Linked DNA regions of Homo sapiens: region 2 is linked to region 1. Evidence: promoter capture Hi-C in 16 types of primary human blood cells and fetal thymus (Javierre and others, 2016). All regions are on one chromosome and are shown on one strand. Each heading gives the region's core, a stretch centred on a gene start or on the middle of the fragment in contact. The rest is flanking DNA. Distances are from core to core; before and after follow the strand shown. Region 1 holds the start of HS2ST1 (heparan sulfate 2-O-sulfotransferase 1). Region 2 holds the start of TRIM33 (tripartite motif containing 33).

Region 1 (4,174 bases), core at 1,675-4,174:
GGCTTAGAGATTTTTAAGGCTTTAACGACTAATTGAATTCAGACAGTGAAAGGAAAGAGGATTTAAAATGACTATTTTTTTTTTTTTTTTTGAGACAGAGTCCTGCTCTGTTACCCAGACTGGAGTGCAATGGTGCAATCTCGGCTCAGTGCAACCTCCGCCTCCTGGGTTCAAGTGATTCTCCTGCCTCAGCCTCCCGAGTAGGCATGCGCCACCACGCCCAGCTAATTTTTATATTTTTACTAGAGACGGGGTTTCACCGTGTTGGCCAGACTAGTCTTGAACTCCTGACCTCAGGTGATTTGCCCACCTCAGCCTCCCAAAGTGCACTGGAATGAGCCACCACAACTGGCCAAAAATGACTAATTTTTGGCTTGGGCAATTGGGAAGCTGACAAAGGCAAAGCCAACCATTTAGATTCTGAATACAGCCAGGGATAATTCAAACGGTGAACCAAGACGCTGTTATTTCTGAGGAGAGAGATGTTTATGGCCTGAGTGATTAACAATAAGTGGATGGATTTGAGATACTTAGGAATTAAAATCAGTAAGTTTCAGTAATTCCCTGGATATGATATATGTAAGGAAAGGAGTCAAACATGACATCCAAATTTCTAGTTTGGATTCTGTGCACAGTCACTGTGGTACGCTGTTTAATTAATTCCTATCATTATTACATATGGAATTAGTTAATTCCATAAATACCTCCTATCCTGGTATGCACACTTTGCAAAGTGACTCTGTCATTCCTCCCATGTAGAGATGAAATCTATTTCTCCATCCCTGAATGTGAACTAGTCTTGTGACTTGCTTTGAGAAATATGTGATGGAAGTAATATATGTGATTTCCAAGGCAAGGCTTTAGAAGGCATTGTAGCTTTTGCTCTTTTGGAGTGCTGCCCTGAGAGTGCCATGAAAAGAAGTTGGTCTAGCCGACTGGAGGATGAGAGGTCACACGGAACAGAACCAAGTCCTCGAGCTGACAGCACCAACTATAAACAGTGGTAATCCTGGAACCTTTCGGTTTAGCTGACCTACTAGGTCAACAAAAAGCATAAATGAGGCCAGGGGAAAACCAACATAGGTGGAGTAGTTCTACTCCACTGACCCAGAATTATGAGAAATCATTGCTGTTTTAAGCTACTAGGTTTTAGGGCGGTTACACAGCTATAGACAACTGACAGTCAAAGACAGAGGGAGATCAAAAAAAGACAACCTGAAATGTTATCTCGAATGACCTAAAGATGTGCAAAAACCCTTAAACAGTAGAAAGTTTAGGGAGAGGTGATCCAGTAATTCCTAGCACCAAATGCCTGAATAACAAGATAATTGGAATGTTAATTACAGAAGTTAAGAATCTACCTTTTGGTTAAAGTAGCCAAAGCAAACAGCCAGGATGCTTTCAAGCTCTTTGAGAAAGGTAAGTACAGGTGTTCATAGAGGACTCCGGTGTAGTCCCTTAACACCCTCAACCTTGGATAAGTAAATTAAACCAGGTCTCCTTATTAGAGACTACCCGAAGAATTAAGCTAGGATAAAAAAACGTAAAAGCTTTCAGCACTGTGCCTAAAATTTTACTATTCACACAGCAGAACATGGATATGAGAAGAAATAAGTTAAAAGTACACTTTTCCCATTCAAAGGTCACCCATCTATTCTGCCAATAGAGAAAAATGAAATAAAAAACGCTGCCTTAAAGAAGACAACGAACATCATTTAAAAAACTAACTTCAAAAATGAATTATACTTTGGTATAGATAACTCCTTTTACTCCAACAACATTGTTTAAAAGCACAAATCGCACTCAAGCGCAGCCAGCCGTATATGAATAGCAGAGGAGAACGGAAGTTAAGAGACTAACAGAAGTAGTGAAAATGAGAGAGCACGCGCGCGAGAGAGGTAAACACAAACTGTTCGCCTGGACCAACGACTTGAAGACTTGCCTCTAAGAGTTGGAAGTCTCGTCATGAGTCTCTTGCATTTCTGTCCATTTAAAAACAACCTCCACTTCTTGCCAAGCTTTATTATTCCCCCCTCCCACCTGGTGTGGTTTACAGATTGTTTTTAGCAAGAGCCGTATAAGAGAAGCTACGTACCCAAGACAATCTGAAATCAAGAGAAAACTGCTGCTAGAAACCCAAGGCGGGGAAGGAGAAGGATCAACCGAGAAATTAAGCCACGTTGCATTCTGGCCGCAGCAGTCATTAAGGAAGCGCAGTCCTCCCCACCCTTTTCAACCAGGACCGAATGTTGCGTCTTTCTCAGCTGCAATCACTCCTACTCTCCCTGTGGCAGCTGCGAAGGTGATCTACACTCACCGCTTGAAGCACAGTCGCCAACAACAACCGTAGCCCAAACGCCGGCACCAGACACCCACTCGGCCCAGCCGCCATCGCTACCATTTTCCGCAGGTTTCTGGCTGCCTAGAAGGACCCCTAAGCTAGGGGCGTCCACTCCAGAGCCTGATCCAAAACAGAACGCTAACGGCCGTTGCCCTTACATCTCTCATTTGGAAGTGACAGGTATTAAATAACGGCATATGAAAGCTTAAAAGTCATCAAATACAATCACTGGGTGCTTTCGATTACCCAAATCAGGCACTTGCCTAAACTCCCCACTTCTTTACTTCTGCGGTCTCCTTTCTTTTATTCACGACACTTCGTCAAGCAGCCAAGAAGCCACGCCTTCGCCAGTTTTAGCCCCGCCTTCTTCTCCAAGTTTACCCAATTGAATGTCGTCTTGATTGAGCTCTGTGGCAGAGGAAACCAACCGTAAACCGAACCAAGAGCGAAGCGCAGGGGCTCTTCCGTCCAATAAGCGGACCCGAACGGGGGGAGGGGCGGGGCTTCTGGTTGCCGAGCAGCGTACGCGGATGCGTGCGCGTGGTGGCGGAGGGGGATGGGCGGGGGCGGGGATGAGGGCGGCGCAGCCGCAGCGCCGGTGGAGGGGCGCGCGGCCGCGAGCAAAGGAGGGAGGGAAGGAAGGAAGAGAGGGAGGCGGGCAAGCAGGCGGGCGCGGGGGTCGGGGACTGAGGCAGTAGAGGGAGGCGAGAGCCCGGCAGCCGCTTCGCGCTGTTTGCTGCGCGGGCTTTTGGAGGGGGCGGCCGTTTAGTCGGCTGAGGAGAAGCGGACACCAGCGGCGTTGGTGATAGCGCCTGGGGGAGGGGGACTGGAGAGGCGAGAAGGGGGGTCGCTGCGGTGGTTCTCTCGCTGTCGCTCTCTCTTTGCCTCGCTCCCGGCTCGGCGGGCTCCTCCCGGCGTCTCTCTCGCCTCCGGGGTCCCGCTCCCCGCCCCCCGCGGTATGTCTTGATCCCGAGCAGCGGGTTTCATGGGGCTCCTCAGGATTATGATGCCGCCCAAGTTGCAGCTGCTGGCGGTGGTGGCCTTCGCGGTGGCGATGCTCTTCTTGGAAAACCAGATCCAGAAACTGGAGGAGTCCCGCTCGAAGCTAGGTGAGGAACTGAACTGCCCCGGGCTGAGTGCTGTGGAAGGGGCCGAGGAGGCGCTGCCGCCGGAGCAAGTGGGCGTTCATCTAACCTGGGGTCTGGCTCGGGGGCTGAAAGCGGTTTCAAAGAGAACCGGGAACAAGGGGCAGCGAGAGCACGAGCTCCAAGAATGGGTTGAATTAAGCTTGAGCGGCGTGCTGGGCTCGCGAGGTCACGGGGCAGAGGTTGCAAGGTTGGGCTTCCCTAGCCAAAGGGTAGCCCCGAAGTAGGCATTCCGCGGAGAGAGAGCGAGAGAGAAGACCGAACTCAGTGGGGAGCGTGTGTTGCTGGTCTCCGGAGACAGAAGCGCTTAGCATCGCGTGTTCTCTTGGAAGTCGTACAGGAAGCCCTGGCAATGTCAGATGAGGGGTATTCTAATTTGAGCTATGGGCATCTGGATACGAATTCTTTTGGGGGCTCATGAAGGGATAGGTGCGCAGAAATGGGAGGAGATGCTGGGATGACGGAGAGCAACATGTGAACACTGTAGCGAGTTGCACTCTTGTGCTCCGGGCAGCAAAGGACCTTGTAATTGCCAGCTGAGGGAGGCTGGCCGGGTAGTGCGGGAACGCGAGTGCAAAGCTTCATCGGAGTACGGAAATGAGGGTCCGGAGATTTAAATTCTTCTTTAGTGGCGCTAAACTGATGAATTGGGGCTTGAGAATAGGGATGCCTATGTATGTTGCTTCAC
Region 2 (4,174 bases), core at 1,170-3,669, about 28 Mb after region 1:
GCTACCATTTCATTAGTAACTACCACGTACTAATCACTTTACACATTTTATCTTACTTCATTCTCTCAATAACCCTATGAGGTTATATACTTTTTTCCCATTTCACAAATGAGAAAACTGAAGCTAAGAAAAGGTCATCTGCCCAAGTCGTAAGTAGGAGATGGCAAAGTAGATTTCCAAACCCTACCGTTCCCCCAAACCAAAATGCTTCATTCTGTAATACCTGATATATCATTCCTTTACTACCCATTCCAAATGTTGATTTCTTTCCTAGATAACCGCCAGGATTCTCCTAACTGGTCTCCTTGTCTCCAGCCTTGCCTTCCCTCATCCCTCAAGTGCCCTAAGTGATCTTTCTGGATCAGAAATCTGATCCTTTTATCCTCTTGATATGAAAGCCCTCCAGGAACATCCTTCAGTCCACAATGTCGAGGATACACTCTACAGGATGAATTCCAAGCCCTTTAGTGCAGCTCCACAATCGCTTACCTACAGTCCCGAAATTCAAAAGCTTTGAAATTTTAATTTTTTTCATTGGTTTGCAACAGAACCCACTGTGAATGCTGGGAGGTTATTTATCGTCTATCCCATTAGCGTGACATTCACGTGTTTCAATGTAGAAACATTAACGTGTTTGATAGAGTTAACTCAGACCCTGATAAAAGTCTCACATAACAGACCTTGCCAGAAAAAAGAAAAATCCCAAAATATTCTGAAGTCCTTACACCTGGATCCCAAGAGTTTAAGAGACTGTGAAACCTTTATCTTTTCAGCCCATCAATCCAATCTAATTTCCACCAATCACCCTACACAGTCTTTAGTTCCAGGGATGTAGAAGGGTGTCCTGTGCCCTGAATACCCTCCAACCCAGTGAGGTACTCATTCTTCAAGAAACCTGTTCATGGATTTCCTTTCCTGTGAAATTTCCCTGACCTTTCCTCTATTGTGCCACAACCATTGTACTGAGGACTCACCTCCACTGCTGCAAGTTATATGTTTCTCCTGTTAGACTGTGAATGAAGTCTTCATTGAGTACTTTATTCAATCCTAGCACAGTGCCCCAACACTAGGGGCTCATTAACGGCCAATTAGCTAAAACAAATTCATGCCCAGCTTTCCCTAACTCTCAATTTCCTTCAAAGTTCATTTCTCCTTCATCCCCAAACCTTAGGATTTTCCCTAACCATGCAGTCCACTTTCCGAGTTTCTCTTTCCCCATGTCATCTTACAATTTTCTTCCAGGCGCCTTCTCTGGACCCCTTGCTCTCCAACATATTCTCTCCACCTCCATTTAATCCATAGTCCTCCTCTCTCCTATCTGTGAACACGCCAAGTCCCCTCCCTCCAAAGCAATCCATCTTCACTGCCCTTACCTCTTACCTACTCCCTCAACACCTCGCTGGCCCGGGCCCTTTCAGCCAAAACGCTTCCTCACAACGTGTTTCCCAAATCCCCCTTCTCTCACTGTACGGGTCTGCCAGCTCCAGAACCAGCGCTCGGCCGGGTTCCGCACATCACAAACCCTCCCTCGGAGCCAGTGTCCCCTCCCCCAGCCTCTCGCAGCCGGCACCCCTCCCTTCATGCTCCCCTTATCTCTTGCGGTCCAGCTTCTCTGGAAAGTGTCCCAGGGGCGAGTCTTTCACCTTAGAGACCCCTCGGGATGGCGCCCGTCCGAGCAGCCCCAGGCCCCAGCACCTCCGTCCCCAGCTCCTCTAGGGTTGCGCAAATCCCTTGCGGCCCAGATGCCAGGCAGGGCCTCCGGCTCACCTTGCTGGATGTCGCCGTTGCTGCCCCCCGGGATGGGCACGCTGAGCTGGCGCTCCGGCTCGGGCAGGCAGCGCAGGCAGAAGGAGTGAAGACAGGGCAGCAGCTTGGGCTCCGCCTCACGCCGGCTCTGCAAGCTCTGCTGACACACGGCGCAGGTGTCCAGGAGCGAGGCTGGCGGTCCAGGAGGCGGCCCTGCCGAGGGACCCGGAGCGGGAGCCGAGGCTGGAGCTGGAGCCGGCGTCGATACTGCGCCCCCGGCAACTCCAGTGCCCACTGAGGCCGCAGGAGATGAAGCAGCCTGGGCCGAGCCCGAGGAGGCCGCGGCCACCCCCCCGTCGTCGGGCCCGGCCGCGCCGCCCTCAGCGCCGGCCCTGCCGCCTTCCTCCTCCTCCTCCTCCACCAGCACCGCGGTGAGAGGCGGCTCCGCCTCCTGCGCGGCGGGCCCGGCGGCCCCGGCAGTTACCGGCGCGCTGCCGCTGCCCCCGCCGCCGCTCTCAGCCTCGCCGCCGCCTTTGTTTTCCGCCATGTTTTCCTCTTTGAACCCGCCGGACCGCCCCGCGCCGCCCGCCGCCCGCGTCGCCGCCGCCGCCGCCCCCAGCCCCAGCCGCAGCCGCAGCAAGAGCGGCAGCCGAGAGCTAGCGAGAGAGCGAACCAACGAGAGCGCGCGCGCACGCGGCGCCCCCGCCCTCGCGTCGCGCGTTTGAAGGAGGGCGGTTGCGGCACGCGCACGTACGCACGGACGTCCTCCCGAGGGAGGCGGGAACTCGGTTCGCGGGCGCGGAGCGGTCCCGGACCCTCGAAGCCAGTTCCTTGCGTCAGTGCCGCGGCTCTTTAACCCGAAGGGAGATTTTTTTTTTAAAGCCAGAGGCCGTTGACGCTGGGTAGCCTTTGGCTGGGGTTGGTTATGAACTCCGACACAGCGGTGGTGCATACGGAAGGGTGGTAGCCGGGACGGTTCCGGTCCCTGCGAGCGTGTCCCGGGCGTCTCCGCGGAAGTTTCACCTGCCGCGCCGCTCGATCGCCGGGACCTCCTGGGTCTCTGCTGTGCGTAGACCAGCCGCGTTCCTTTGGGTGGCCGTGGAGCACTAAAGCGGGGCTTATTGTTTGTTTGGTTTTGGTTTTTTTTTTTGTTTTTTTTTTGCTTTTTGTTTTTGAACTGAGGATCTATCAGAAATAGGCTGAAAAGACCGAGTGAGGAAGAAACTCTTTAACAGCTATTTTTGGCATCTTAAGGTGATTCTCAGGAGTTGCTACGTATCAGAATCAACGGAGGAGTTTTTCAAAGCAGAGATGCCAGGGCCAGTCCCCAGACCTGAATCAGGAAGTGAGGGAGAGAGCCGACGGAGGGGGAAAAGTCCCTTCAGCTGATTCTTATGTATGTCAGTTTGGAGAGCCACGGATATAACCAATACTGCGTCCTTCTGAGGTCCCACTTTAAGTGTCCTGGGTTGAGCTGGGTGACAAATGCCCTTACAACAATGGTAGTAGAAGCTTTCAGGCCAAGCGCAGTGGCTCACGCCTGTAATCCCAGCACTTTGGGAGGCCGAGGCGGGCAGATCACTTGAGGTCAGGTCAGGAGTTCGTGGGCAGCCTGGCCAATATGGTGAAACCCCGTCTCTACTAAAAATATAAAAATTAGCCGGGTGTAATGGCGTGCGCCTGTAATCCGAGCTACTCAGGAGGCTGAGGCAGGAGAATGGCTTGAACCCGGCAGGAGGCGGAGGCTGCAGTGAGCCGAGATAGCGCCACTACACTCCAGCCTGGGCGACAGAGCGAAACTCCGTCTCAAAAAAAAAAGAAAAGCTTTCAGAAAGTTGCCTTTTTATTTGAAAAAAAAAAAAAGGTATTTGGAGGATTTTATGTAGTGCAACAACTGTTTTAGTGTTAAGATCATGAAATGCTTTGGTCTCCTGTTAGTGTTCCCAAGAAAGGTGCTGTAAGTCCTTAAACCACGTGAAAACTTTTTTTTTTTTTGAGACCTCCTCGTTCTGTCGCCCTGGCTGGAGTGCAGTGGCGTCATCACATTTCATTGCAGCCTCGACTTCCCAGGCTCAAGCCGTGCTCCTCGCAATTACCTGGGACCGTAGATGCACGCCACCATGACTTAGCTGATCTTTTTTTTCCCTTTGCCTCGAAGAGGCTGGGGTCTCACCATGTTGCCCAGGCTGAAACTCCTGGGCCCGAGCGATTGGCCCGCCTCAGCCGCTGGAAATGCTAGCATTACAGGCATGAGCCACTGCGCCCAGCCTCCTGAAAACTTTTTAAAATTTATTCAAAAATGTTTCCTGACCTCTTTATTGTCATAGTGTTTTAGAGATACACTGGGATTACAAAACAGAGGAGCTCCCTGCATTCAAGGGGTTTACAATCTAATAGAGAAAAAGATTGAGAATAGATACATGCCAGG

The links. Contacts are between HindIII fragments. The CHiCAGO score rates a contact against its expected background, and 5 or more counts as called.
Region 2: the fragment with the promoter of TRIM33 here is called in contact with the fragment with the promoter of HS2ST1 in region 1 in 1 of 17 cell types (total CD4 T cells); the score reaches 14.0 in total CD4 T cells.

The regions. Positions count from the first base shown.
Region 1 is chr1:86,911,711-86,915,884 of GRCh38, forward strand. It overlaps HS2ST1 (heparan sulfate 2-O-sulfotransferase 1), which reads left to right and starts at 2,925. Exons shown (of 7, transcript NM_012262.4): 1 at 2,925-3,450. The coding sequence starts at 3,327. It overlaps SELENOF (selenoprotein F), which reads right to left and starts at 2,416. Exons shown (of 5, transcript NM_004261.5): 1 at 2,318-2,416. The coding sequence starts at 2,401. RefSeq lists enhancers at 1,713-2,327, 2,176-2,225, 2,328-2,942, 2,336-2,495, 2,546-2,665. The HindIII fragment of the contact is 1,083 bases long and covers 2,544-3,626 here.
Region 2 is chr1:114,508,784-114,512,957 of GRCh38, forward strand. TRIM33 (tripartite motif containing 33) reads right to left here and starts at 2,420. Exons shown (of 20, transcript NM_015906.4): 1 at 1,768-2,420. The coding sequence starts at 2,293. It overlaps LOC124904348 (a long non-coding RNA gene), which reads left to right and starts at 2,555. Exons shown (of 2, transcript XR_007066452.1): 1 at 2,555-3,142. RefSeq lists silencers at 1,957-2,256, 2,287-2,396 and enhancers at 2,587-2,756, 3,617-4,174. The HindIII fragment of the contact is 2,747 bases long and covers 510-3,256 here.